5 separate regions of the Homo sapiens genome follow, and regions 1, 3, 4 and 5 are each linked to region 2. Evidence: promoter capture Hi-C in human tissues and cell types (Jung and others, 2019). All regions are on one chromosome and are shown on one strand. The core of a region is centred on a gene start or on the middle of the fragment in contact, and the rest is flanking DNA. Distances in the headings are between cores, read along the strand shown.

The links. Contacts are between HindIII fragments. The study calls those that stand out against the background at their distance.
Region 1: a fragment that was not itself captured here is called in contact with the fragment with the promoter of PTX4 in region 2 in 2 of the 25 tissues and cell types used here (mesenchymal stem cells and spleen).
Region 3: the fragment with the promoter of NTHL1 here is called in contact with the fragment with the promoter of PTX4 in region 2 in 1 of the 25 tissues and cell types used here (spleen).
Region 4: a contact is called between the fragment with the promoter of GNG13 here and the fragment with the promoter of PTX4 in region 2, in 2 of the 25 tissues and cell types used here (dorsolateral prefrontal cortex and lymphoblastoid cells).
Region 5: a fragment that was not itself captured here is called in contact with the fragment with the promoter of PTX4 in region 2 in 1 of the 25 tissues and cell types used here (spleen).

Annotation. Positions count from the first base shown.
Region 1 is chr16:971,685-977,531 of GRCh38, reverse strand. It overlaps LOC124903620 (a long non-coding RNA gene), which reads right to left and starts at 3,463. Exons shown (of 2, transcript XR_007064935.1): 1 at 2,921-3,463; 2 at 1,774-2,191. It overlaps CEROX1 (cytoplasmic endogenous regulator of oxidative phosphorylation 1), which reads left to right. Exons shown (of 3, transcript NR_164343.1): 3 at 439-1,771. It also overlaps a transcript of LMF1 not described here. RefSeq lists an enhancer at 4,379-5,369. The HindIII fragment of the contact is 4,224 bases long and covers 1,380-5,603 here.
Region 2 is chr16:1,484,859-1,490,914 of GRCh38, reverse strand. PTX4 (pentraxin 4) reads left to right here and starts at 1,971. Exons shown (of 3, transcript NM_001328608.2): 1 at 1,971-2,146; 2 at 2,945-3,599; 3 at 4,336-5,029. The coding sequence starts at 2,006. The coding sequence ends at 4,976. The HindIII fragment of the contact is 5,905 bases long and covers 1-2,602 here.
Region 3 is chr16:2,045,116-2,050,071 of GRCh38, reverse strand. NTHL1 (nth like DNA glycosylase 1) reads left to right here and starts at 2,238. Exons shown (of 6, transcript NM_002528.7): 1 at 2,238-2,363; 2 at 3,706-3,944. The coding sequence starts at 2,249. It overlaps TSC2 (TSC complex subunit 2), which reads right to left and starts at 2,087. Exons shown (of 42, transcript NM_000548.5): 1 at 2,007-2,087; 2 at 1,319-1,485. The coding sequence starts at 1,456. RefSeq lists a silencer at 1,824-2,053 and enhancers at 2,144-2,233, 2,684-2,743, 2,335-2,834. The HindIII fragment of the contact is 27,107 bases long and covers 1-4,956 here.
Region 4 is chr16:797,068-802,588 of GRCh38, reverse strand. GNG13 (G protein subunit gamma 13) reads left to right here and starts at 1,855. Exons shown (of 3, transcript NM_016541.3): 1 at 1,855-1,923; 2 at 3,478-3,609; 3 at 3,765-4,548. The coding sequence starts at 3,512. The coding sequence ends at 3,870. It overlaps CHTF18 (chromosome transmission fidelity factor 18), which reads right to left. Exons shown (of 22, transcript NM_022092.3): 20 at 5,497-5,521; 21 at 4,838-4,895; 22 at 4,515-4,750. The coding sequence ends at 4,614. RefSeq lists enhancers at 517-1,066, 1,067-1,616, 1,617-2,166. The HindIII fragment of the contact is 13,916 bases long and covers 103-5,521 here.
Region 5 is chr16:2,163,491-2,169,402 of GRCh38, reverse strand. It overlaps TRAF7 (TNF receptor associated factor 7), which reads right to left. Exons shown (of 21, transcript NM_032271.3): 2 at 5,402-5,520; 3 at 3,467-3,524; 4 at 1,235-1,326. The coding sequence starts at 5,482. Among named protein-coding and RNA genes, the nearest start is that of TRAF7, 11 kb to the right of the region's middle. RefSeq lists enhancers at 3,476-4,248, 4,249-5,022, 5,432-5,912. The HindIII fragment of the contact is 6,093 bases long and covers 1,190-5,912 here.

The DNA.
Region 1 (5,847 bases), core at 2,242-4,741, 510 kb after region 2:
CACCCGTGGGGCAGTTGGCAGCGTCCTGGCACGGCCTGGGAGATTAATTGGTGCTTTTAATGACGGCTGGTCTGGCAGAGACAGAGTGACTACAGGCTGGGCCGGCGCAGGCTGTGAGCAGAGGCTGGGAAAGGCCCCGCCCCCGGACGGGTCTCCAGGGGAGAGGAGGGGTTCGCAGGACCCCTCTCAAGACCCCCTTCGGGAGTCAGCTTCTTGGCCACGCACACTTGGAGCTCTGGGCTGGGTTGCAGCTCCCTGTACTTCACTGTCTCGGGTGCTGGCAGTGCCAGCTGGGGCACGAGTTCCGGTTTGGGTCAAGGCTGGCCTGTTGGCTGGGGTGGCGTCTGCCTGAGAACTGGCCTTGTCTGTGCCTTAAGCTTCCTGGCGCTCACAGGGCAGTGGAAAACCACTCAGTGAGTCTTTCTTGGCACCTTGCAGGAGCAGTGCTTTCTGGGCCTCTGTAGCCAGAGCTGGCCCTGCTGCAGCTTACGTCTGCCTGCAGCCCAGACGTCCTCCTGGTCCTCCTGATGCCCCCGACCTCCACGGAGGACGAGCATTTCCAGCCCAGCCCTCCCCATCTTCACCTCGCACTCCCCTGACACACTGGGAGCCTCCTGATCCGTGAACCCGCGCTGGCGGGAGTAGCTACTGACCGCTGGGGACCCCTGCCCAGGCTGTTCGCATGTGGAAAGGATTCAGGGAGCAGGCGATGCCCAAAGCGTGGAGACCAGCACTGCTCTCTCCCCAGTGACAGGTGCACGCCCAGATCACGGATGTGTCGGGAACAGCTGTGCTCCTGCTGCTCAGCGTCCGTCACTCCAGGCTGGGAGCGGGTCCCCAAGCTTCTGGCTGGGCCTATCCGTCTCCACTCTCAGTGTGGGGGTGGGGGGCGCCAACAGCACGCATTTGCTCTCTGCACTTCTCGTCTGATAATGGGCAGAGGGTCCTTCTGCAGCCCCAAAACATCCCTAGGCAGGAGCCCTGGGGCCCCAAGCAGCCAGGGAGGTGAGCACCAAGGACCTCCCAGAGAGCGTCACCTTCCGTCGAGGGAGGCCCAGCCTGGGGGCGGTGTCTGAGACTTGGAATCAACGCTTCCGTTGGTGGCAGTAAATCCTGTCCCTAACCCTGCAGTACAGCTGTGCCGTGTACAGGAGGGTGCTGTCTGACGCCAGACACCTGGACTACAGATCGCAGCCTGATTCCTGGTCATTGCTCCACTGAACCCCAGACCCCAGCCTCGTTCTGGGCCCTCATCCCCTAGATCCAGGGACCCCAGCCCCATTTCAGCCCTTGGGCCCTTGTAGGATGCGAGGCCCTGGGCCCCAGCCCCCAGCCCATCCGTGGCCCAGGCACTGGGGGGCTGAGGTCCTCTGAGAAGGGACACAGGGCCTGGGGGGCTCTCTCAGCCCATCAGCAGGAGAGGACTGACTCCAGAAAAATCAGCGTTTGTACCCACTCAGGCTGCCAAGACCTGTGTCCGTCCTTCCAAGCTCAACCTTCAGAGTTCATGAGGCCCCTTGCCCAGAATGTCCACAGAGTTCATGAGGCCCCTTGCCCGGAATGTCCACATTTGAAACCTCCCAACACCGAGCCCCATTTCAAGTATAACCAGGAGGGAAAATGGTGCTTGAAATAAGCATGCCACAAAGGAAAACCTGCTTTCTCGAAATGGGCCCTGGCCGCCCAGGCCCTGACCTCCCCGGCCAGGATGGAACGTTCCAGAGACCCATTAGTGCCAAAGGCAAATGAAAACACACCCTGTGAAAATGTCTCTGCTGTCTCCCAAGTATTTATTTTTCTGAGCGTGGGGAAGGAAGGCTTAATTAAGATGCCCTCAGGCGGGTACGAGGGGCAAAGTGGGAGCAGGGAGCGTGCTTCCTCTGTGGCCTTGGTTCAGACAACAGCCTTCAGCAAAGCTTTGCTCTAGAGGCTCATAGGAAGGGACAGAGGGCACAGGCCCAGCTCAGCCTTTCCCCTGCCTTTCTTGGGGCCTGGGCATGGACAGCACCGCCTGGCGACACACAACGGTGGGCTCTGAGGCTGTTTGTTACGCAGCATTAATGTGGCCGTCGGTGACCGCTACACGGTGACTGATAACTGCACTGTGGGTAGAGCTCAGCCCGCAGGGCTCTGGTTTGTGACCTCTGGGCCAGGCAACTCTCAAGGCTTCTTCCAGTGCAGAATATGATTCCTAGAGAAAAAAAAAAAATTACACATTCGTTTCCTAACATAGGGCCCTGCAACCGGAGAACACCACCACATTGGGAGCTGTGCTTTCCACTGTCTAGAAACCATGGCTTGCCAGCTTGCAGGGTCACATGGAGCCGCATCTCCTTCTGGGGTGCAGGGGTGGGAACACTCGTGACCTGTAGCCGAGGGTGCAGGGAGAGGACAGGGTGAGCCAAGCAGAACAGCCGTCTGTGAGTCATCGTCCCAGGACAACCAGCAAATGGCACAACACCTGCTCTCTCAGCCCCCACCCGCACCTGCCAGCCTCACGTGGGGGGTGGGGGGGTTGGCCGCTGGACAGTCACAGCAGGATCTGCCCAAACTGACCACCCTTCCAGGAGGAGGCAACAGATGTTAGCATCCACGGGTCCTGGGCCCCCCTTCCATACCCAGACTTCAGGACATGAAAAATTGGGGTAAATGAAGGGTGCACGATTATCTTCGGGCCCACACTGGCTTCCTGCGGGTGCCAGAGACAGCTGCCACCGCATGCCAGGGACAATGGCCCCGAGGAGGCGGGAGCTGCCAGGCCGGGGTGCTGGGGGACAGCTGGACGAGGTGCCGACAGGGGCTCATTCCTCCCTGAAGCCGGCCCGCAGCTGCTGGGAGCGTGGCCAGCCACGGGCTTGTGTGTGCCTGGGTCCTGGGGGCTGTGCTGGCGCAGGCCGGGACGGCGGGGACAGGGTCCCACCTAGGGCAGGCTGGTCGGTCTCCGGGGAGGCAGCCCAGTCTTCAGCCTGCGTGCTCTTGGGGTGTCCGTCCCTTCCTCCCCATTCTCCTCCTCTTCTCAGCGTCTTCTCCCCCAGCACCGGGCAGCCCTGGGGTGGCCGAGCCTCATCTCCACTCCCCTCCCTCAGGCCTCTCCTGGGTCAGCCTGGCTTTTTCTCTTAGAGTTTTTGCTTGACAGGGCACTCTCAGGACGCCCTCCTCCTCCTCCCGCCTCGGGTTGGTGTGAGGCGCTCAGGGCAGGGCCCACGTGCCTGTGGTCACAGGACACTGAGCTGCAGGGTGAAAGGACCACACCTGGCCGATCTCCCGGCCGCTGCAGCTCACTCTGGGTTTGCAGAGAAGCCTGTTTTTAAGTGAAGTGCCTTCTTAGAGAATAAGACACACCTGTATCTAAATGTTATTTTTAAACTGCTAGATGCGCCTTAATATAGACAAAGAAGTAAGGTGAGCGTAAATGACATGATGTATTCCGACAGGTGACAGCGCCTTCCGGGCGATTCTGAAACACCAGTGCAGGGCTGTCTGTTGTCTTTTGTTTTCATTTTACTTTTTTTTTTTTTTTTTGAGACAGAGTCTCGCTCTGTCGCCCAGGCTGGAGGGCAGTGGCACGATCTCGGCTCACTGCAAGCTCCAGCCCCCGCGTTCACGTCATTCTCCTGCCTCAGCCTCCCGAGTAGCTGGGACTACAGGCGCCCGCCACCATGCCCGGCTAATTTTGTTGTTGTTGTTGTATTTTTAGTAGAGACGGGGTTTCACCGTGTTAGCCAGGATGGTCTCGATCTCCTGACCTCGTGATCCACCCGCCTCGGCCTCCCAAAGTGCTGGGATTACAGGCGTGAGCCCCGGTGCCCGGCCTCATTTTACTTTTCTAAAATTCGAGGCGAAATTCACATAGCATGAAATAAGCCATTTGCCAGTGAACGACTCGGTGTTTAGCACCTCACAGTGCTGGGCAGCCATCGCCTAGTTCCAGAAGATTCTCATCAGCCCAAAAGAAAACGTCCTACCCCCGGACCACTGGCTCCCCACTCCCCGTCCCCAGACCTGGACCACAGAGCTCCCTCCTTTCCCCGTGGCTTTGCCCACCCCGGACATTTCATGTAAATGGGCTCACGCAACTCATGACCTCCGCGTCTGTCCTGTCCCACTGAGCTTGATGTTCTGAGGTTCATCTGTGTTGTAGCACGTGTCAGAACTGGATTCCTTTTTATTTTATGTTTTATTTTAGTGAGACAGAGTCTCGCTCTGTGGCCCAGGCTGGAGTGCAGTGGCGCGATCTAGGCTCACTGCAACCTCCACCTCCCGGGTTCAAGCGATTCTCCTGTCACAGTCTCCCGAGTAGCTGGGATTACAGGTGCCCGCCACCACACCTGGCTAATTTTTTTGTATTTTTAGTAGAGGCGGGGTTTCACCATGTTGGCCAGGCTGGTCTTGAACTCCTGACCTCAGGTGATCCACCTGCCTCGGCCTCCCAAAGTGCTGGGATGACAGGCGCCCGGCTCCTGGATTCTTTTTGATGGCTGAATCATAACCCAGTGCACTTTTGATTAAATTCAGGCTGAAATGGGCACGACCAGAGCTGCTGGTCCACCTCTCCCCGGCCCAAGCCCTGCCCCCGGTGACCTGCTCTGGAGCCATTCTGGGCAGTGGATGGGACCCCTGCGGTCAGCGTCTCAAGAGAGCAGACCCTGAGGGAAACTTGAGCTCAGAGAGAACAGGAGCTCCCAGCAGACCCTTCCGCTGACTGCTCCCACCCTGGGCAAATGCAGAGCCGGAGCCCGGAGCGCTGGAAGCTGGAACAAGAGGCCCTTTTCTGCTCTGCACAATGCCCCATTGTGCCCTTCGCGGGGAGAGCAGCTCGGCCCAGCGAGGGGAAGCTGTGCACAAAGCCTCCTTGTGAGGGCAGCCCCACCTGAGGACAGCGCAGGGCCACACCTGACGCAGGGCAGTCCCTCTCGCCGTCCGTCCCCTAGCAGGCCTGGCACCCAGACAGGGCCCGCTCTGCAGGCGTGGTCCCAGGGTGTGGGGCTCCCTGTTCCCCACAGATGAGGGGAACAGTGTGGGCTGTGCCGGCCCTTCCTAAGCTGGCCCCCAGGTCACGAGGAGAGGTACGGGTCGTGGGCTCTGTGGAGGGACTTGGGTGCCGGGCGCCAGCCAGGGCCGATGCCTCCTGCGATCCCCAAGGCTCCGAGCCCTCAGGCACACACCACGCTCCCGGAGGCTGGGCCAGCATGCGGAGGATGTTTGTGTGTTCGTACCCGTTGCAACATCTTTAACAGGGTCCCATTTCACAGCTGGGCTCCTAAGGGGGGTTTCATAGAAAAGAAATGGAAACTAAAAATGAATTAAACCATAAGATGTACACGTATGCTACGGCCCCAGCAACACAGGGAAGGTGGAGGCTGAGAGGAAGCTCGGGCCACTGCTGGTCAGGCCTGGATTTGGGGGCCCGATGTCCACAGTCAGTCCCTGCCCACACAAGGCTCACACTGCAGGTGGTGAAGATATAATTAAACAGGTAATTAAACAAGCAATAAAGACGGGTCATTTGACCAACCCAGTGGCGATAATTGATACGCCAAAACACTAGGAAAGCTAGAGAGGCAAAAGAGAAGAATACATGAAAACAAAAACAAAAAACCAGGACAAATATTTCCAATATACACAAAAGAACAGGATTTTTCATACGTAAAGAGTGCTGACAAATGAATAAGGAGAAATCTGCACTTCCACCTAAGTGCCCCACAGTTTATTCACTAACCCCTAGGTCTCCAATGCCTACTCTAGCCTCACGCCCTTTCTTTCCTCTAAGGAATGCCTGTGACCCCAGCCCTTCCTAGCACCCGCTTCACATCAGCCTCCAGAACCCCGCTCCAGTCATCAGAGTGT
Region 2 (6,056 bases), core at 722-3,221:
ACCCTGCCCCGACCCACAACTTTAAATGGAAATCAGGCAGGCTCAGTGGCTCACGCCAGTAAACCCAGCACTTTGGCTAGGCTGAGCTGGGAGGATTGCTTGAGCCCAGGAGTGTTTGAGAACAGCCTGGCAACATAGCAAGACCCTTCTCTACCGAAATAAAATAAATACATAAATAAATGGAACTCACTGTCAGTTGGAAGCTGCGAGATCCGCCGCTCTGTGTGTGGCACCAGCGTCGCTGTCCTGGTGGCTGCCAGTCCCCCGGGGCCTAAGGCCCCAACCCCGTCCATGTGCCCAGGATGTTCTCTCCGATGCTTTCTGCATCTTCTCCATGTCCATGGTGTTCTGACGCTTGACAAGGGGAGCCTGGGGGCCACCGATGGTTTCCTGGCCTGGCACCCTCTTGGCTCATGCCACCTTGGGAATGATGGATGCCCCCAGTGGGACAACTTTGTGGATGATCTTATTCCCATGAGCTGGGCGGCTTGAAACAACAGAAATGAGTCCTATCACAGTTCTGGGGGCTGGAAGTCTTGAAGTGAAGGTGCACACTCCCTCGAAGGCTCTGGGCTGGGGGTTCCCACTTTACCTCTTCCAGCTTCTGGGGCCTCTGGGGGTTCCTCGTGGCAGCGTCACCCCAGTCTCTGCCCCATCTTCACAGGCCGTGTCCTCTGTGCCTCCTCCTCTGTCTCTTGTACCCCTGTCATTGGCTTTAGGGCCACCTGGATAATCCAGGATGGTCTCATCTCAAAATCCTTCATGACATCCGCAGAGACCTTTTCCACATAAGGCCCTGCCTGGGGCTTATGTGTGTTTTTAGGAGGGTCTCATTCAAGCCAGTACACAACCTGTAACCAAAAATACCAGCCTGGCCCACATGGGGCAACCCCGTCTCTACTACAAATACAAAAATTGGCCGGGCGCGGTGGCTCATGCCTGTAATCCCAGCATTTCGGGAGGCTACAGCGGGTGGATCACCTGAGGTCGGGAGTTTGAGACCAGCCTGGCCCACATGGTGAAACCCCGTCTCTACTAAAAATACAAAAATTAGCCGGATGTGGGGGCACATACCTGTAATCCCAGCTACTTGGGAGGCTGAGACAGGAGAATCCGTTAAACCCAGGAGGCGGAGCTTGTGGTGAGCGGAGATCGCACCACTGCACTCCAGCCTGGGTGACAGAGCAAGACTCCGTCAAAAAAATTAATTAATTGGCCAGGCGCAGTGGCTCATGCCTGTAATCCGAACACTTAGGGAGGCTGAGGCAGGCAAATCATGAGGTCAGAAGTTTGAGACCAGCCTGACCAACATAGTGAAACCCCATCTCTACTAAAAATACTAAAATTAGCCGGGCATGGTAAAGCACGCCTGTAATCCCAGCTCCTCAGGAGGCAGGAGGCTGAGGAAGGAGAATCGCTTGAGCCGGGGAGGCAGAGGTTGCAGTGAGCTGAGATTGCGCCATTGCACTCTAGCCTAGGCAACAGAACGAGACTCCATCTCAAATAATAATAATAATTAATTAATTAAGGTGGCTCCCAGTCACATTTCCATTGCTTTACTGAGAGAGACGGGGCCTCCCAGGATGCAGCCGTGCACGGCCTGGGTGATGGGTGCCTGTGCAGACCTGGCTCTGTTGACTCCCCAGCCCCCGTCGGGTTCCCTGTCTTGCTTCGACTTCTCGGGAGCACAAGTCCATGTGCTCCTGTTAAAGCCATCGCCTCCTGCCCGCGGGCTTGCACCCAGCTGAATGATTCTTCAAAGAAACTGTTTGCATCTGTTTTAAGCTTGTCTCCTTAGGAACCTGCAAGTCTCAGAGCCCACTGGCTTGAAGGCAGATGCCTTTCATGGAGGCGGCAGGAAGAACCTGACATCCAGCCAGGGCCAAAGAAGGAAAACCACTCAACAGGAGAGCTGGGGGGACGAGACACAAGACAGACCCACGGAGCCACCTTCACCCTCTCCTGCGGCTGGAGGGAGACTGCTGGGGCCTTGCCGTCTCTCCGGATGGGTTGCTCGTGGAGGAAGACCTTGTCTTTCTTCCTTGTTTTTGTGCCTATATATCTACATGGGGCTTCATCGCAGGAAGCCGCCCCAGTGGGGCCCAGGAAACCGTTTTTCGAGAGGCTCCGTAGGCTGGAGGAACAGGCAAGTTATACCCCTGACATGGCGCAGTCGGGTTTTTAAATTGGCAGCAGATGGAAGACGGATGTTACAGAAGCAGATTGGTAAACATCAGGGCTTGGCGGACACGAACACCGCGTGTGACGCTCTTTCCATCCATGAAGATTATTTCACCTGCAGTTGGACACCAGGGAAGAGCTGAGCTGGGCTCCACTCACACAGGACACAAGCCTCATAACATGTGGGGGTCAGGTGGGGCCAGAGGCTAGAAGGGGGTCTGGAAGGGAGTCAGGGGAACTGGGGGCCATGGGGGCCGGGTAGTGTCATGGGGAGTGGAAACTGGGAGGTCACAGGTCCACCTTGTGGCAGTCGGTGTGAACGGCCTCCCGGACTCCCACGCGGGGTCCACGGACAGTTCCGGAGTGCTGTGGGCCTGTCGGGCCTGCGCTGGGTGCTTCCTGTTTGGGCCTCGTAAAGCACTCATGAGGCCACCCTGCCGTCCCCTGCTCACAGGCAGGAGCTGGAATCACGAGGGAAAGTGACTTGCCGGTGGTTATGGGGTGAGCGGTGGGGATCAGAGCCCCAGCTGTGGGCCTGGAGTCCACACCCCACGTGGTGCAGCTGCATGGCCTGGGGTCAGTCCCTGGCACCCACCACATCTCACGGCATCGCAGTGGGGATCAAATCGGTGGGCAGATAGCCAGTGCTGGCCGTGGCCCGGGCACGCGGCCGCTGCTCCCAACTTGAGAGGGCAAAGCCTTTCCCGTCCCGCCCAGCCGGCCCGGCCCGGCCCGCCCCATCATCACCGTGTCCTCCTTACAGTTCCGGAGATTCCAGGAGGTGACCTGGACACACCTGCAGAACATCGCCAGCAACTACAACGTGTCCTACAACGTTGACGTCCGGTTCCGGAGCCTGGCGGAAGAGAGCCAGGCTGTGGCTCAGGCAGTCAACCGGTCACAGGCCTCGGTGCAGGGGGAGCTGGCGCAGCTCAAGGCCTGGGTGAGGAAGCTGCAGCGCCGAGGCCGGAAAGTAGACACGCGGCTGCGGGCCTTGGACCTCACCCTGGGCGAGAGGAGCCAGCAGCGGGCCCGGGAAAGGAAGGCACACAAGGCCCAGAGGGACGCCCTGCAGGACTCACTGGCACGCCTGGAGGGCCTCGTCCACAGCCAGGGCGCCAGGCTGGCTGCTCTGGAGGGGCGGCTGCCCGTGGCCCACCCTGGCACTGCAGCCCTCGGGCCGGCCCTGGTCCCAACCCCAACCCAGCCTGAGGAGCTGGGCCCGACCTCCCTGAAGCTTCAGAGGGACAGGCAGGAGCTCCGAGCTGCCTCTGAGCACAGGGGCCCCCCACAGGACTCCTCGGCCCCTCTCCAAGGGAGGCGGGAGCCTCCAGCCTCAGGCAGCCATCGGGTACTCAGTGGGACTGCCCCAAAAGACCCTCGGCAGCAGGCATGGTCCCCCCAGGTGCCAGGAGAGAGTAAGTACCACAGGCTCCCAGCTCACGGCCAGGCTTCCCTCCAGCTCCTCCTTAGACCAGGCCCCCTGGAAAAGGCTTCTCAAAAGAGGTTCAGTTAGGGGCCGGGAGATGGGGAGAGGGTCTCGGATCATCGGGGGGGGTGGCCCACCGTCATCACAGAGGCTTTCTAAGGGGAGGCAGGAGGAACACAGTCAGAGGAGGGCGTGAGGGCAGAAGCAGAGGTGGCGGGATGCACAGACGAGGAGGCCCCACGCCGAAGGGTGCAGGCGCCTCTGGAAGCTGGAAAGGGCGGGAGATGGTTTCTCCTGGAGCCTCCAGAGGAACCAGCCCTGTCCACACCTGATTTGAGCCCTGGGAGACCGTGTTGGCCTTGTGACCGCCAGAAATGTGAAACACTAAACCTGCGCTGTTGTGAGTCATGAAATTTGCAGAGACTCCCTGGCAGTGAGGGGCGCTGGCTCAGCTGGGTGGGCCGACAGCTAGGGCTCCTAGCAGGACCCCGCCACTCCCGAGTACGGCCCTCATGTTCAGTCTTCCCGCCTGTGGAACTGGGGTGATCCCATCAAGAGAGTGAAGGAGACGCTGCAGGGGAGCCATCGGCAGGGCCAGCGCAGAGTCAGTGCTCCGTGAAGGGTGGCAGCCGGGAGTGGGAGGCCAGGCACCCACAGCACGTGTGCTTCTGGATGCTTCTGCTCGGCCTCCTGCAAGGGGTTGACCCTCCCTCCTCTGTTTCTAGTTTGCGGCGTGGGCCCCACCCTCGTTTTCCCAAACGCCTCCACCAGGAACGTGGTCTTCCTCAGCCCTGGTTTCGTCACTGCCCTGCGAGCCCTGTCCTTCTGCAGCTGGGTCCGCACGGCCTCCGGCCGCCTGGGCACCCTCCTGTCCTACGCCACCGAGGACAATGACAACAAGCTGGTGCTGCACGGCCGAGACTCCCTGCTGCCCGGATCCATCCACTTCGTGATCGGGGACCCGGCCTTCAGGGAGCTGCCCTTGCAGCTGCTGCTGGACGGCCAGTGGCACCACATCTGTGTCATCTGGACGTCCACCCAGGGCAGGTACTGGCTCCACGTGGATCGCAGGCTGGTGGCCACCGGCTCCCGCTTCAGGGAGGGCTATGAGATCCCCCCCGGAGGGTCCCTCGTGCTGGGCCAGGAACAAGACAGCGTGGGGGGCGGATTCGACAGCTCCGAGGCCTTCGTGGGGAGCATGTCTGGCTTGGCTATCTGGGATCGGGCGCTGGTTCCCGGGGAAGTTGCAAACCTTGCCATCGGGAAAGAGTTCCCGACAGGTGCCATCCTGACGCTGGCCAATGCTGCACTAGCAGGCGGATTTGTGCAGGGGGCCAACTGCACCTGCCTGGAACGCTGTCCCTGAGGCCGAGCCGCACGGGGGCTGAGGCCAGCAAGGGCAGCATGCCCCCATCCACATTCCGCCACCGCCCTCCCCGCCAGCACATTCTACAAAGGCCACCCCCACCCGTCCTGGCTTTGCACACCTGCGCCCTCACATAGGGGTGCCTATTCCATCCTGGGGAGTGGGGAGGTGGACAGGGAGCGAACAGAGACAGAGAGAGCCTGGGGTCAGGGTGGCCTGCAAGCCCATGTTTCTTCCATCACCACGGCATTCTTACTTCCTGCACTGTCTTCCTTTCTTTTTTTTCTTTTTTTTTTTTTTTTTGAGACGGAGTCTCACTTTGTTGTGCAGGCTAGAGTGCAGTGGCGCGATCTCAGCTCACTGCAAGCTCCACCTCCCGGGTTCACACCATTCTCCTGCCTCAGCCTCCCAAGTAGCTGGGACTATAGCGCCTGCCACCATGCCAGGCTAATTTTTTTGTATTTTTAGTAGAGAGGGGTTTTCACCATATTAGCCAGGATGGCCTCAATCTCCTGACCTCGTGGTCTGCCAGCCTTGGCCTCCCAAAGTGCTGGGATTACAGGCGTGAGCCACTGTGCCCGGCCCCTTTCTTTCTTATCTTTTTTTTTTTTTTTTGAGATGGAGTCTCACTCTGTCTCCTAGGATGGAGGGCAATGGCATGATCTTGGCTCACTGCAACCTCCGCCTCCCAGATTCAAGCAATTCTCATGCCTCAGCCTCCTGAGTAGCTGGGATTACAGGTGCCCGCCACCACGCCTGGCCCCTCCCTCCCTCCCTTCCTTCTTCCTTTCCCGTTCCCTCCCTCCCTCCCTCCATTCCTTCCTTCCCTCTTCCTCTTTCTCTCTCTCTTCTCTCTTTATCTCTCTCTCTCTTTGTTTCTGACAGAGTCTTACACTGTCGCCCAGGCTGGAGTACAGTGGCACAATCATAGCTCACTGCAGCCTCAACCTCCCGAGCTCAGCTGATCCTCCCACGTCAGCCTCCTGAGTAGCTGGGACTAGAGGCACACACTAACGCGCCTGGCTGAAAATTTTTTATTTCTTTTTTCTTTTTCTTTCTTTTTTTTTGAGATGGGGTCTT
Region 3 (4,956 bases), core at 989-3,488, 560 kb before region 2:
AGGCAGGAGAATCCCTTGAACCCAGGAGGCGGAGATTGCAGTGAGCCGAGATCGCGCCCCTGCGCTCCAGCCTGGGTGACAAGAGCGAAACTCGGTCTCAAAAAAAAAAAAAAAAAAAGATTTACTGAGGGGCTTTACTGCTCCATCCCGAGGAGTTGAGAATGTGCAATTTTTTTTCACAACTGCAAATGTTGTATTGAGATAAAACATAACATGAAATACAATTTCAAACTGCACAATTTTTTTTTAGACGGAGTTTTGCTCTTCTTCCCCAGGATGGAGTGCAGTGGCGCGATCACGGCTCACTGAAACCTCCGCCTCCCGGGTTCAAGCAATTCTCGTCTCAGCCCCCCGAGTAGCTGGAATTACAGGCGCCCACCACTATGACCGGCTAATTTTTGGTATTTTTAGTAGAGACGGGGTTTCGCCATGTTGGCCAGGCTGGTCTCAAACTCCTGACCTCAGGTGATCCACCCGCCTCGGCCTCCCAAAGTGCTGGGATGACAGGCGTGAGCCACCGCACCCAGCCAGGATGGACTATATTTTATTCATCAGTTGATGAACGTTTTAGTTGTTTCTAAGTAGAAAACTTTACAAGTGCAAAAATTCAGCATTTACTCATGGGCAAAACACAATGCCAGGCATGTGTGACAAAGACACAAACACACATAAAAGATAACGACCTAGCCCATGTGCGATGGCTCATGCCTGTAATCCCAGCACTTTGGGAGGCCAAAGCGGGCAGATCACCTGAGGTCAGCAGTTCAAGACCAGCCTGGCCAAGATAGTGAAACTCCATCTCTACTAAAAATACAAAAATTAAATGGGTGTGGTGGCACGTGTCTGTAGTCCCAGCTACTCAGGAGGCTGAGGCAGGAGAACCACTTGAAACTGGGAGGCAGAGGTAGCAGCGAGCAGAGATTGTGCCACTGCACTCCAGCCTAGGCAACAGAGCAAGACTCAGTCTCAAAAAAAAAATAAAATAAAGAACCTACTTCTCCCAGGAACTCACATCTTATCATGTAACACCTGGACATATCCTTACCTGTGAAGATGATGATACTCAGGCCTCATCTATAAGATGGGCTTTCTTTCATCAACATCTGAATAGTAACTCAAGTGTGCCTGAACCAGGTCACCAAGATCCTGACTTTCGAAGTCTCCTGAGGAAGGACATGTCGGCCTCCAAGTACTGGAGACAGCATTCCTGTGTAGACAGTTGCCAGCAACCCGTCTCCCACAGAACCTGGTGCAAGACCAAACCCAGCCTTCTCTGCATTTCCCTCTAGCCTAGCAAAGACACAGGTAGCTCACTCACTCTCAGTATTTCCGCGGTGATGATAAACTCCGTCTGTTTACCCTCTGCAGACCTGGGATTTGGCCTCGGTGTTCCCAGTCCCAACAGAATCTTAAACTTCTCCTTCAAGCCTGAATCTTTGCTTGTTGGTTTGGCCATGGTGGACCAGGACGCACCAGAAAACCCCTCTGTGCAAACGAAACAGGAATGGGGACATCTGAGCAACACCTCTGCCCACCTTCCCCACTGCGGACCTCCAGCCGTCAGGACCCTGGGTCTCTGGTGGGCATAACCTTTCCTCCCACACTCCCTGGGAGAACTCAACTACAGCCCAGCTGACCAGCTCGCAAACAGGCACCTAGGAAAGCCCGGGAGACACCAGGCCTGGTCTAGAGAGCTCTCTACTCAGACGCTGCCGCCCGCCCCGCCCGACTCAGTGCACGGGTTAGGACTGCCGCCGCGAAGTCCTGGGAGCCCCGACGTTTGCCGTCTCTCCTCTACCCATGTGAAGCAGGAGCTGTCACGGAGCCGCCTGCAGCAGAGACCCGTTCGCACCCGCCATGACTTAAAACTAAGGGATGCTCGGAGCTCCGGAGTCGGGTTGCAGTGGGCGCGGGTGAGGGCCCGGGACCCGGACACTGCGGGGTCCGCCTCTCTAGGCCGCTGCCCCGTGGGGACCGCCACTTGCCCCGTGGGGACCGCCACTTACCCCGCGCCGCGCCACCGCGCTCCGGGCCGCCCCGACGCGGAGAAAGGCGCACCCCCCTGGCCCCGGGACGCCGCCGGAAGCGCGACCCGCACTTCCGGTAGCGGCATTGCGCGGAGGGCCGCCTTGGGAGCTTGCTGGGAGTTGTAGTTCTGTGCCGCCCTCTGGCGGAAAGGCCGGCGATCCTTGCATCACGTGACGGGGCCGCATGGGCCGCCGGGATGTGTAGTCCGCAGGAGTCCGGCATGACCGCCTTGAGCGCGAGGATGCTGACCCGGAGCCGGAGCCTGGGACCCGGGGCTGGGCCGCGGGGGTGTAGGGAGGAGCCCGGGCCTCTCCGGAGAAGAGAGGCTGCAGCAGGTAGCGCCGCGCCGTGGCTGGAGCGTGGGAGGAGGCGGGATAGGGGCTGCAGGCTGGAGTCCCGGGCCGCCTCCTGCGGCTCCCAGCTGCGCGGGCAGGGGCTGCAAACCCGGCAGCCGCGAACGGTTCCCACGTGCGGCCCTGCGTTCCCACCTTGCGCCTTTTTCCCAAAGATTGCGGTCCGCAGGGGCTGGGTTTCGGGCGCTCCGCTCCGCTGCCCCCTTTCGCCCCAAGCAAGAAAACGCTTCCTTTCCCACCACTCTGTCCGGGACTCTCCACTCCAGGCTCTGTGGGTCCCATCCCCGCCCTCCTGCAGTGAACTTGCTGTCCTCGGAGAGGCTGGGTGCCAAGGACACACGCAGCCAGAAGCCTGCTCCCCCAGCTCGGGGGAGGGTGCCTCTGAGGGAAAACAGGAAAGGGCATGGCACTTATTATATTTATCCTGCAGCCGTTGAGGACCTGCTGGGGGCCAAGCACTGCAGTGAGCAGTGAGGGACACGGACAGGGCCTCTGCGCTAGTCCCGCTGGGACTTCTGCAGAATTGGCCAGAGCTGGATTCCCATAGGCACCCAGGGACCCCAGGGGTAGTCCAGACTATGTCAGGAGGAACTGGTGCAGCTGGGAGCAGGCAGGTGGTGATGCCAGCCAGGGTGGCAGGAGCTTTGATGCCAGGATAGAGTTTGGAGTTTATTATGACAGTAAACGGAAGTCAATTAGGAGGTTTTGTTGTTTGTTTTGAGATCGGGTCTTGCTCTGTCACCCAGGCTGTAGTGGAGTGTTGTGATCTCAGCTCACTGCAACCTCCGCCCCCCAGGTTCAAGCAGTTCTCCTGCCTCAGCCTCCCAAGTAGCTGAGACTATAGGCCCCTGCCACCACACCCGGCTAACTTTTGTATTTTTAGTAGAGATGGGGTTTTGCCATATTGGCCAGGCTGGTCTTGAACTCCTGACCTCAAGTGATCCACCCACCTCGGCCTCCCAAAGTGCTGGGATTACAGGCTTGATCCACCGCGCCCGGCCGGCCAGGATTTTTTAAAAGGGAGTGACACAACCTGATGTGGGTGTTAGCAGACTGTCTCTGGTGCAGTATAGAAGATGTATTGGGGGCACCTTGGTACAGGCTGTTGCTAGAGTCCTCATGAGCTAACATGGACCTTGTCAGGGTCGCTGGCATAAGGAGGGCCCACATACCCCAGACTGCAGAGGGCAGAGCACCCCAAGTGTATTAGATGATGGACAGTTGTGGCATGAACGAGTGAGGGGTGAGCTAGCAGGCGGGATGGCACCCCTACCCTACCTTCACCTGTGGCCCCACCAGAGGGACTGCGTGGTGCTTTTTGCAGAAGCGAGGAAAAGCCACAGCCCCGTGAAGCGTCCGCGGAAAGCACAGAGACTGCGTGTGGCCTATGAGGGCTCGGACAGTGAGAAAGGTGAGGGGGCTGAGCCCCTCAAGGTGCCAGTCTGGGAGCCCCAGGACTGGCAGCAACAGCTGGTCAACATCCGTGCCATGAGGAACAAAAAGGATGCACCTGTGGACCATCTGGGGACTGAGCACTGCTATGACTCCAGTGCCCCCCCAAAGGTAGGCAGGGGCCCCATCTGCCCAGATGACCCCCCATCTTAGCAAGGTCCTTGTTTTCTTTCTACCCGGTGGCTTTTGGCTGGCACCCTCCCCTGCAGACAGCACCTTGGGAGGATGGACACCCGGTGCCCCAGAGCATCGCCTGCATCACTGTAGCCACTCAGCAGGTCAGGACACCAGTGGTTTAGGGCCTCGTGCTCGAACTTCTGCCCAGTGCAGGCGTGACCTGGGCTTTGTGTGATATCAGGAAGGAAGAGTTCCTTTTGCTTCACGGTCCCAGGGCCTGAAACCCTTAGACCAAGCTGAGTTCTAATCCCTATTCTGCTACCAGGTGGCTTGGATACAGGCCTCTCTGAGCCTCAGTTTGCTTGTCTGTAAAATGGGTAGTATGGGCCAGGCATGGTGGTTCAGGCCTGTAATCCCAGCACTTCGGGAGGCCAAGGCGGGTGGATCACCTGAGGTCAGGAGTTCGAGACCAGCCTGGCCAATGTGGCGAAACCACGTCTCTACTAAAAATACAAAAATTAGCCAGGTGTGGTGGCAGGCACCTGTAACCCCAGCTACTTAGGAGGGCGAGGCAGGAAAATCGCTTGAACCCCGGAGGCGGAGGTTGCAGTGAGCCAAGATGGCACCACCACACTTCAGCCTGGGTGAAAGAGTGATACTGCATCTCAAAAAAAAAAATTTGTTTTAAAGGGTAGTGTGATGATTCACGAAGCAATCATAATAGTAGTGGCCAATGGCTGTTCAGTAGTGATGGGCCAGATACGATCGTGTTGGGTTTTTTTTTGAGACCAAGTCTTGCTCTTGTTGCCCAGGCTGGAGTGCAGTGGTGAAATCTTAGCTCACTGCAACCTTCGCCTCCGAGGTTCAAATTATTCTCCTGCCTCGGCCTCCCGAGTAGCTGGGATTACAGGCATGCACCACCGCACCCAGCTAATGTTTGTATTTTTAGTAGAGACGGGGTTTCACCACGTTGATCAGGCTGGTCTCAAACTCCTGACTTCAGGTG
Region 4 (5,521 bases), core at 606-3,105, 690 kb after region 2:
GTGGCCCACACCACACTCCAACCTGTGTCCTGATTCACTGGGGGCACTGGCCGTGTTGGACAGAGCTCAGGCACCCTCAGGGACCTTACTGGGTCCAGTGAATTGACCAAAAGCCAGAACCTGGAGCCTTGGCGACCCCATTAGGAGACCTCCTAGGTCCTTCCAGATGAGCAGATGCAAAGGCCGCTTGGGGTCCTGAGAGTGGCCACAGAACCCCCAGCTCTCACAACTCAGCTGCGGACCTCAGGGTGTTCCCCCGCCTGGCCCTGGCTCCAAGCCACCTGCTGTCCCAGGGAACGTGGGGGACATGCCCTGGGGTCCCCCCCGCCTTGCCTGCATCCTGGGGTGGCACACACCCCTCCCCTAACAGCCATTCCACTCTCTGGCGCCCAAAGTGGTGCCCCCAGCCACAGGGAGAGCCCTCAGCAGCCCAGAAACTAAGGTGCATCCGAAGTCACAGCACCAGGGGGCACAGGCAGGGCAGGGCGGGCACTGGGATCAGGGAGACGTCTAGCCCCCACCATGCCAAGAGGGGCAACCATCTGCCCTGAGGAGGAGGCCTCGTGCCCTGGGCTTTAAGCTGCCCCACCCCACCCCCAAATCCATAATAAAAATAATCCCTTCCCTAATGTGCCCCAGTTCCAGAGGCGCCTCTGATCCAGCCGACACACATCAGGGCGGGAGGTGCAGGTGGCCCCGATTCACGGAGTCACACTGGCAGGGAGTCCTGCTGAGTGACTTCAGGGACCTGAGCGCCTGAGAGGGACAGGGCCCACCTCTCCCCGACAACCCCTGCAGAGGTCTGGGCCACCCCAGGCAGGCCGGGCGGTTCCCTGTGACACTGGGGAAGGCAGAGTGACCTGCTCACAGGCCCCTGGCCCTGCCAGCACCCACCGAGGGCCTGGCCCACGCTTCCCCGGGGGTGGCCCAGCTTCTGCAGGGACTGTTTGGGGAGCTTGGCCCTGTGCCCCCAGAGGCTGCTGTTGCTGCCTGGGCGCCCCCACCTAGGATGCAGCCTGGTATGTACGTCACCTGCTGGTACATAGGGCACAGCTCCCACAGGAGCCCAAGGGGTACACCCAAGGGCAGGGTGGGAGGAGACACGGGGAAACGTGTCAGAGGAAAAGGGGCCAGTCTCAGCTCTGCAGGCTGACAGGTGCGGAGCCCCAAAGGGAAGCCCTCTCCCCAGAGCCTTGAGGTCACACAACCCGAGCCCAAGTGCTGCAGCTGGGGGCACCTCTCCCGAGGCAGCGTGCCCCAGAGCACCCACAGTGGACCGGTGTTGGGGACGCCTCAGGCCGCCACTCTCAGCTCAGATCAGACTGAAAAGCACGGCACTCTCCTGCCCTCGGGAGCTGCCCCGTGCCGGCCACTGGTCTGGGAACAGGGGATCGGGCTGGAGCAGGGAGCTCCACAGAGCCCCGGGGCCCCTAGCAGTAAGAGGCTCACATCCCAGGGTGAGCCACATGGCCCACACAGGATGCCTCTGTCAGGGGGGCACAGCTGAGTGTCACCTGAACCCTGCAGGCTGCAGAGGCTTCAGAGGGCAAAGGGTCCCAGCCCCATCCCCACTCCTCCCGGCTGGCCCAGGACACTGGAGGGGGAACCCACCCCCTCAAGTGGAAGGAGACCTCTCCACCAGGGCCCAAGCTGGCCCCTCAGGGAAAATGGACCAGCCCCACACTGGCCCCTGGCTGCATGTCCATCCGCTGGGTGAGCCCAGGGGAGGGGGCAGCACAGGCTATCTCTGGGGTCAGCCCAGCCCTGAGGAGGGTGTGGGGGCGGCGCCAGGGCCCAGGTGGCGGGAGGGGCGGGGCACAGCCAGGGCTCTGCCTGGCGGACTCCCGGAACATCACTTGGCCCTCGCTCTCACTCGCGGTCGCCTGGCCGTTGTCATTGTCCCTCCGCTGTCACCTTTTCAAGGTAGGTCCGATGAACAGGCGCCCGGGGCTAGGGAGGGCCCGGAGGCCCCTCGACTCTCAGCTGGCCCAGGTCAGTCCCCTGGGCTCACCCTAACTCCCGGGGCGAGGGCAGCTGCCCCGCAGGCAGCAAAACCCAACCCGAGCCGGTGCTGCAGGCAGGGAGGCGGCTCTCGCGGTGCGGGGGAGCTGTGTCCATCTGAGCGCCGTGCGCCGCCTGCAGTGCCCACCGAGTCCCGTGGCTGGGGGCGTCCACGGGGTGCACGGGGTGGGTGGCCAGGCTTGGCGGCAGCTGCGCGAAGGTAGGGCTGGGCAGCAAGGACTGGGCTGTGGGCGGGGCGCCAACACCCCGGGCCTGGGAGGACCCGCACGCAGCTAGTCCTGCGCCCACGGGGCTGAGTGTAGGGTCTCCGAGAAAAGGCCTGCACCGGGGATGGGGGCGGGTAGGGGTGCTGGAACTCCAGAGTCTCCGGGAGGGAATCCTCTGCATGACCCTGATCACTCCCCCAGAAACCTGCCCCCGCTCGCTCCCCGGCCTCCCACCCCACTACGGGCAGACCCTCTGCTGGCTGCTGGGAGTCTGCCCAATTCACCACCGGGACCCCACCAGCCTCAGGCCCTGGGCCCCTCCCTAGGTGGCCGGTGCAGCTGCACGACCAAAGGATGGGGAGACTGTTGGGCCAGGAGCCCCCTTCACAGCCAGAGGCAGGCTCCCCGAAACTTGACGCCAACCCCCACCCACCCTCCCAAGGTTCAGCCCTGTCTCCCAACCTTGGGGACGGGGGCCAGAGTTGGGACGGAGTGAGGGACTCCCTGGGCCCCTGGAGTGGGTAGGGGGAGAGGCAGGGGGCAACCCACCCCCACTTGCCTCGAACTTGTGGCAGTTCTGAGGGGTGTCAACCTGTGGCTTTCCCAGGCTGGCCACAAGCAGAAAGCACGCAGGTAACGTGTGTGGTTCCCAGACACACTGGGGACCCAGGGGCCACCCACAGCCCATATCCCAGACTCGGGTAGTATAGCCTGAGCCCCCAAGATCCTGAGCACACACCCCACCTGCCAGAGAAGCAAACTGCAGCAGAACATTCCTGTCCAGGAGTCCTGGCTCTGGACTGGGCTCTGCCATGCAAAGCAAAGGGGCACACAGCGGGGCGGGGCAGGGGCCACCTCCTGAGGACCTCGCCCCACACCTCACACCGTGGTCTGGGTCAGCCTGCGTGGGCCTCAGTGGGAGGGTAGGAGCTGGGGGCCTGCCGTGCTGAGCACCCTTTCTCCTGCCTGCAAGGGATCTTCGTAAGGTGTGGGGGCCTATGGGGGAGTAGCTGAGGATGTAAAGTTTCTTGCAGTTAATTAGTCCCAGTGCAGGAGGCGGGAGCTGGGGCCTTGTGGGAACTCGCTCTGTGCCCTGCACCCTAGCAACGCCTAGGGGACTGGCCCAGGCAGTGGTGTGGACTCTCCCCGCTTCATCCTGCGGGGTTCAGCTCAGGCCTGCGGGGAGCAGCGGGGGTGGGGACTACAGGCTGGTGGCCTCGGCCCTGTGGCTTCCTCCTGTGCCCTCCAGCCCCAGGCTGGCTGCTTCAGAAGCCCCTGACCCCATGGAGGAGTGGGACGTGCCACAGATGAAGAAAGAGGTGGAGAGCCTCAAGTACCAGCTGGCCTTCCAGCGGGAGATGGCGTCCAAGACCATCCCCGAGTGAGTGCCCCACCTGCCTGATTTGCCTCTCATTTGTCTGCCCTGCGCTGGCTGCTCATTTCCATAGCCACGACCACCGCCGCCGACAGGCAGGTGCAGCAGGAGGCCCTCGGGGGTCAGGTGCCACCACTCACCTGCCACCCGCCCACCCGCAGGCTGCTGAAGTGGATCGAGGACGGGATCCCCAAGGACCCCTTCCTGAACCCCGACCTGATGAAGAACAACCCATGGGTGGAAAAGGGCAAATGCACCATCCTGTGAGCCCCGCACCCGGCCCCTCTCACACCATCCTGTGAGACCACGCCCGGCCCCACTCCCACCATCTTGTAAGACTGTGCCCAGCCCCACTCACTCCATCCTGTGAGTCCCACTCCCAGCCCCACTCCCACCATCCTGTGAGCCCATGCCCGGCCCCACTCACACCAACCTGTGAGCCCCACTCCCGGCCCCACTCACTCCATCTTGTAAGACTATGCCCAGCCCCATTCACTCCATCCTGTGAGTCCCACTCCCAGCCCCACTCCCACCATCCTGTGAGCCCCACTTCCAGCCCCACTCCCACCATCCTGTGAGCCCCACTCCCAGCCCCACTCCCACCATCCTGTGAGCCCCACTCCCGGCCCCACTCACTCCATCCTGTGAGCCCCACTCCCAGCCCCACTCACACCAACCTGTGAGCCCCACTCCCGGCCCCACTCACAACATCTTGTAAGACTGTGCCCGGCCCCATTCACTCCATCCTGTGAGACCACGCCCGGCCCCACTCACTCTATCCTGTGAGACCACGCCTGGCCCCACTCCCACCATCCTGTGAGCCCCACTCCTGGCCCCACTCACACCATCCTATGAGCCCACGCCCGGCCCCACTCCCACCATCCTGTGAACCCCACTCCACTCGCACGTGATTACAGTCTGTAAAGGTGTGACTTTATAAAGACATCTCCAGCTTCCTGTCTCTGCACTCTGCGGGAAGCAATGCGAGGGCATGTCCGCGGCTCAGAGAACTAGAGCAAGTCCCTGATGTACAGGCTGCGCCGCACGGCGTTGGAGACACCCTCGTTGAAGCGGAACCAGACCTCGCTCCTGCCCACCGCTGTGCCCATGCGCCGCTCCACTGAGTCCTGCTCCGGGGCCGTGTCCCCTGCGGGGCCACAGGGTTGCTCCTCAGCTGTAAGGCCCCCCCACAACCCCCAGGCCCCCCACAACCCCACAACACCCCCACACACACCTGCACTCGGGACTGCTGTGCTCCTGACGACCACACGTCCAAAGAAGTCCTTCTCAGGCTGATGGGAGGAAGGACTAGTCAGTCGTATAGGACAGATGCCCCATCCAGCCCCTACCCAAGACAGGAGGACCGAGAGCCTTCCCAGGGAGGAGGGACCAGAACACCTCTGAGACACCTTTCGGAACCTGGCCCAGGCCAGCTGCCCCTCACCCCTCACTGCCATCTGCTCCCCACCAGGTGCCAATCAAGAAGAGCCAATACAGCCACTCTTCTGCCCAGATGGGAAACTGAGGCCTGGGTAGAACCCTGGTCATGCTGAGGGTAAGGAGCTGGTCCTTCAGAGCCCCCCTTAGGGCACTGAGCCAGCCCCACCCTCAGCCAGACTCCTCCTGTGGCTCAGCCCCACCCCCAAAGGTACCCTGGCCCCACCCCATGGGTGCCTTGGCCCCACCCCTAAAGATACCCTGGCCCCGCCTCATGACTGCCCTAGCCACAGCCCTGAAGGTACCCTGGCCCTGCCTCATGAGGGGCCCTAGCCACACCCACAAAGGTACCCTGGCCCCACCCCATGGGTGCCTTGGCCCCGCCTCATGACTGCCCTAGCCACACCCCCAAAGGTATGTACCCTGGTCCCACCCCCACAGCTGCCCATTCCACACCTGTTCCTCCCGGGCCGCTCGCCTC
Region 5 (5,912 bases), core at 2,987-5,486, 680 kb before region 2:
GAGACCGAGGCAGGCAGAGGCCCAGGGGACGGGGCCCAGACATACCCAACTCGCCCTCGGCCTAGCACAGCGCCCGGCACACAGGTGTGTTTGTTCAATTAATTAAAAACTTCTTTTCTGGCTGAGCAAGGTGGCTCACACTTGTAATCCCAGCACTTTGGAAGGCCAAGGAGGGGGCAGATCAGCTGAGGTCGGGAGTTCGAGACCAGCCTGACCAACATGGAGAAACCCCATCTCTACTAATTCAAAATTAGCCAGGAGTGGTGGTGCACGCCTGTAATCCCAGCTACTCGGGAGGCTGAGGCAGGAGAGTCACTTAAACCCGGGAGGCGGAGGTTGTGGTGAGCTGAGATCACACCATTGCACTCCAGCCTGGGCAGCAAGAGCAAAAGTCCGTCTCAAAAAAAAGAAAAAAGGAAAAAAGAAAAGGCCTCGGTCCCAAGAGGGCCAGCAGGGCCGCCACACCTGGTGTCCAAGCACTGGAGAGAGGCAGCTGCCAGAGAGGCCCCACACACCCCCACCCCCTGCTGGGCCAGTCCTTCATGCCCAGGGTAGAGTTGGCCTCTGTCCCCTGGGTAGGCCCAGAGCCCAGCAATGAGCGCCATTGACCAGGATGGCAGGGAACGGCCACTGAGACCCTGGCCACAGGGCTCAGGTACCAGCAGCCAGCCCCCGACTGCCCTGATCCTTTCTGCACCTCACACAGCCAGCAACAGGGAATTCTCCGGCTCCCCCAGCACTTGGCGCAGGTTCCGCAACCCCCACCCCATTGCCTCTGGTGTCCCCACAGCTTAGGTCCACACACCTTTCCCCCCGCCTCATCAGGACCCCTCCTCAAACCCTGCCTGGACCCAGCAACCCCGCTCATTCCCTACCCAGCAGCAAAGGAAGCTTTCAAAGCATGTATTTTATTGTGCTATCCTCCTGACTGAACTTTCTGTGGTTTCCACCTCCCTTAAGATGGAGCCAAATATGCCTCATCCTGGCCTGCAGGTGCCAGGCCCTCTGACCCAGCTGCCCTCACTGGCTGCCCCCTGCCACCCACAGTCCAGCCACAGGAGCCTCCTTTCTCACAGACTTGCCATGTCTGCCGAGGCCTCAGGGTATCCACAGGTGCTCTTCTTCTCCTGTGCCTCACCAGCTCACTGTCAACTCCTCCTGGGACCTGGTTCCCCCAGGAGGGAGGATGGGGGGAGGCTGAGGCTCACACGGGCTCCTGGGGGTAGGGACCTACCATGCTGTCCTCCTCGTCCCGCGGGGAGTAGGCAAGGGTGCTGGAGGAGGAGGGTGTCCTGCAGTGCTGCTTGTAGGTGCTGGTCCCGTCAGCTGCAAGGCAAGAGGGCTGGCGTCTCAGTGGGGGCTCCCTCAGCAGATGTGGGGGAGGTGGGGCCCATGCTGGATACCCGACCCTGTGGGTCCCCTGTAGCTCACAGCCCTCCCCAGGGCCAGGCAGGCAGGAAAGCATGCAGGGATGGCACGGGGGAAGCTTGGGTTCCCTCTCAAGGTCAAACCAGTGCCAGGAGCATGGACGCTGGGCTCGGTCTACATCTGGACAGTCCCAGCGCTGAGCCCGGTAGCCCCTGCCCCAGCCCTGCCTACCCCAGGCAGGGTCTTCTTTCAGGGCCTCTACAAGCTCCCCAGCACCCCAATTGAGCCAGCTGAGGCTCATGGCCAGCACGCAGCCATCACTCTGAAGGCCGCCTGGCAGCAGCTGGGGGTGCCATTTTATTTGCCTCTTGAGGCACCTCTGCCAGGTGAGTTCCCTGACAGCCTCCACTCACAGAGGGGGAAGCTGAGGTTGAGGTGTGGGCTGGGATACAGAAGGGCCAGGACCGCATCCTGGTGTCCCTGGCACAGCCAGGACCAGGAAGTGGCCCCAGCTTTGGTGGCCTCCTCTGGGGCAGGAGCTGAAGTGCCCTCCCTCCTCCTGCCCACACGTCACCCCAGCTTGGCCAGGGCCAGAGGGCAGGGCTACCGGCCGGTCAGTCCACGTGGGAGGCAGAGAGAGACACCTCCCGGACTCAGGACCAGCCCAGCTCAGATGTCACGATGAGCCCTGGGCTCGAGATTGAGGCCTCGAGAGGCTGCCGTGTGACTGGGCCTCGGTTTCCCCATCTGTCATGAGGGGCCAGGTGAGGTACCTGTGGGCGCCCTGCTGCCTGGCTCTGCCCATCCCTGCCGCCGAGGGGCCAGGCATAGCAGCCGTGCCCTGCCCCATCATGGGTACCTTCCGCCGTGTGACAGGGGCCATGGGGCTTCTAAGGGTAGATGAAAAGGCACCGTTTTTTGGGGGGTAGGATTAGAAAAAAAAAGAGGGCCCCTGGAGAGCCCCTGAGGGGATCACCAGCAGCAAAGAGGCGCTACTGTAAGCAGGTGTCCTTGGCGGCCCTATGACCCCATGGCCAGGTTTATCAGAGCAATTAAAAAGCTAATTAGCAGCCAGTGTGCTTCTACAAAGGGCAGAGTGCCAGAAAGGAGAGAGAACAAAGTCACCCCAGAACCCCACCCCGGAATGAGGGTCCCTGGCCCTGCACCTCGGGAAGAAGGCACTGCCACTTCCGCATGGTCTCCCTGAGCACGGCGCTTGCGTTCAAAGCGCAGCACTCTGGTTTTTAGGGGATAGGACTGAGAAGCAGCAGGGAAGCTTCAGGTTTCTGTCGTGTATCCCGCCCAGTGGTCTTGTGCAGGTGAAGATTTATTGGGCTTGGCTTGCTGGCTCATGCCTGTAATTCCAGCACTTTGGGAGGCCAAGGCAGGAGGATCACGTGAGCCCAGGAATTTGAGACCATCCTGGGCAACATGGTGAGACCTCATCTCTACCAAACATAAAAAAAATTAGCCAGGTGTGGTGGTGCCTGTGGTCCCAGCTACCTGGGAGGCTGAGGTGGCAGGACTGATCCCAGGAGGCACAGGTTGCAGTGAGCCAAGATTGCGCCACTGCATTCCAGCTTGGGTGACAGAGTGACACCCGTCTCAAAAAAACAAACCAGACTTATGGATCTCTTCCACTCTCCCTCCCTTCCTATTAACATGTCACAACTGCAGCACTGTTACTGAAGCCCTAGGGCCAAACTCAAGAGAAGACCTCCGGGCACACGGGACCTTTCGGAGGCTGGCCAGGAGCCTGAGACTGGGGACAAGCTGGGGATCACTGTGACAAGGGACAGGGCTGTGTGGTGGTGCTGGAGATGTCAGGGCAAGCCTCCCTAGAGGGGATGAAGAGGGCAGGGAGAGAGGGCACAGCACAGTCACCGAGGCACAAGGAGCAGGACACCCGACTCCTGTCCAGTGGGGAGGCCCAGGGCTGAGAGGCTGTGAGGACACAGGCTGCGGTGTGAGGCTGCCCGCGCCCAGCACTGGCACCCAACACCAGCTCACCGGGAAGTGTCCCTCAGTCCTTAGCAGGGTGGGCATGGGGGTGCCCCGGTTATTCCCAGCCTGGGCTGGCCTTGGCTTAAGGGCTCACCTTTTGTGATGGTGGTGACGGCTGAAAAGGCGGGTCCGAAGGTCGTTTCCATTCTGGTCTAGAGGGAGGACGGAGGAGACCTGGCCTCATTCCGGGACACAAGGAGGACGTGCACATGTGGAGCCCACTCACATGCCTAACACGCGACCAGGCCAGGCCACGCAGCACTCACACACTTAACCATGCGACCAGGCCACGCCACGCAGCACTCACACGCTTAATCATGCGACCAGGCCGCGCCACGCAGCGCTAACACGCTTAACCATGCGACCAGGCCAGGCCACGCAGCACTCACACGCTTAACCATGCGACCAGGCTGCGCCACACAGCACTCACACGCTTAACCATGCGACCAGGCCAGGCCACGCAGCACTAACACGCTAAACCATGCGACCAGGCCAGGCCACGCAGCACTCACACGTTTAACCATGCGACCAGGCTGCGCCACACAGCACTCACACGCTTAACCATGCGACCAGGCCAGGCCACGCAGCACTAACACGCTTAACCATGCGACCAGGCCAGGCCACGCAGCACTCACACGCTTAACCATGCGACCAGGCCGCGCCACGCAGCACTCACACGCTTAACCATGCGACCAGGCCGCGCCACACAGCACTCACACACTTAACCATGCGACCAGGCCGCGCCACGCAGCACTAACACGCTTAACCATGCGACCAGGCCGCGCCACGTAGCACTAACACGCTTAACCATGCGACCAGGCCAGGCCATGCAGCACTCACACGCTTAACCATGCGACCAGGCCAGGCCACGCAGCACTCACACGCTTCAGCATGCGACCAGGCCAGGCCACGCAGCACTCACACGCTTAACCATGCGACCAGGCCAGGCCATGCAGCACTCACACGCTTCAGCATGCGACCAGGCCAGGCCATGCAGCACTCACACGCTTAACCATGCGACCAGGCCAGGCCACGCAGCACTCACACGCTTAACCATGCGACCAGGCTGCGCCACACAGCACTCACACGCTTAACCATGCGACCAGGCCAGGCCACGCAGCACTAACACGCTTAACCATGCGACCAGGCCAGGCCACGCAGCACTCACACGCTTAACCATGCGACCAGGCTGCGCCACACAGCACTCACACGCTTAACCATGCGACCAGGCCAGGCCACGCAGCACTAACACGCTTAACCATGCGACCAGGCCAGGCCACGCAGCACTCACACGCTTAACCATGCGACCAGGCCGCGCCACGCAGCACTCACACGCTTAACCATGCAACCAGGCCGCGCCACACAGCACTCACACGCTTAACCATGCGACCAGGCCGCGCCACGCAGCACTAACACGCTTAACCATGCGACCAGGCCGCGCCACGTAGCACTAACATGCTTAACCATGCGACCAGGCCAGGCCACGCAGCACTCACACGCTTAACCATGCGACCAGGCCAGGCCACGTAGCACTCACACGCTTAACCATGCGACCAGGCCAGGCCACGCAGCACTAACACGCTTAACCATGCGACCAGGCCAGGCCACGCAGCACTCACACGCTTAACCATGCGACCAGGCCGCACCACGCAGCACTAACACGCTTAACCATGCAACCAGGCCGCGCCACGCAGCACTAACACGCTTTACCATGCGACCAGGCCAGGTCACGCAGCACTCACACGCTTAACCATGCGACCAGGCCGCGCCACGCAGCACTCACACGCTTAACCATGCAACCAGGCCGCGCCACACAGCACTAACACGCCCCAACCACACACGCACGCGTGCGCGCGCGCGCGCGCGCGCGCACACACACACACACACACACCACACCCCCCCCCACCGAGCTCCCCTGAGACCCCAGCTCGGGACGGGACTGCGCTGGGAGCTCTGCAGGCAACACCAGATCCCTGGGGCATGCTGGGGGTCCTGGGGATGTTGGGCTTGCAGAGGGGCACACCCTTACCCCTGTGGTGACGTCTGGGGTGGGAAGATTGCTGGGCCCCCCGGAGAAGCGGTTGTAGCGGGCACTCTTGCCTGAGCTCATGCTCTAGAGAGGCATCTACGGTCCTTGGGAAGCACCTCCTGTGGGTGGAGCACAAATGAGGGGCTTGAGAGATGGAGCCCAGGCCCCTGTGAGTCAGACGGGCTGCTGCAAGTGTGCAGACCTGCTGTGGGGCACCGTGGGGCCGCCGCAGCAGCCTTCCACCACCAGCCCCGGCTCAGGCAGGCCTCTAGGAGGCAAAGGTCCTTCACCCCGATCCCAGGTATGCAGAGGCCCGGGCAGGCAGGCGGCTCTGCGTCACCGTCCCTCAAGGCTTAGCCTTTCTGAGCTCCCGAAGAGCCCATCCAGCTCTTCCCCGAGGTGGAGGGACCCCTGCCTGGCTCCCTCTACTCCTCTGGGTCCTGAGTCACAGCCAGTCACCTCCAGGCTGAATGTCCCTGGGGCCAAGGCTGGGCCTTGGTGGGTAGGCCCA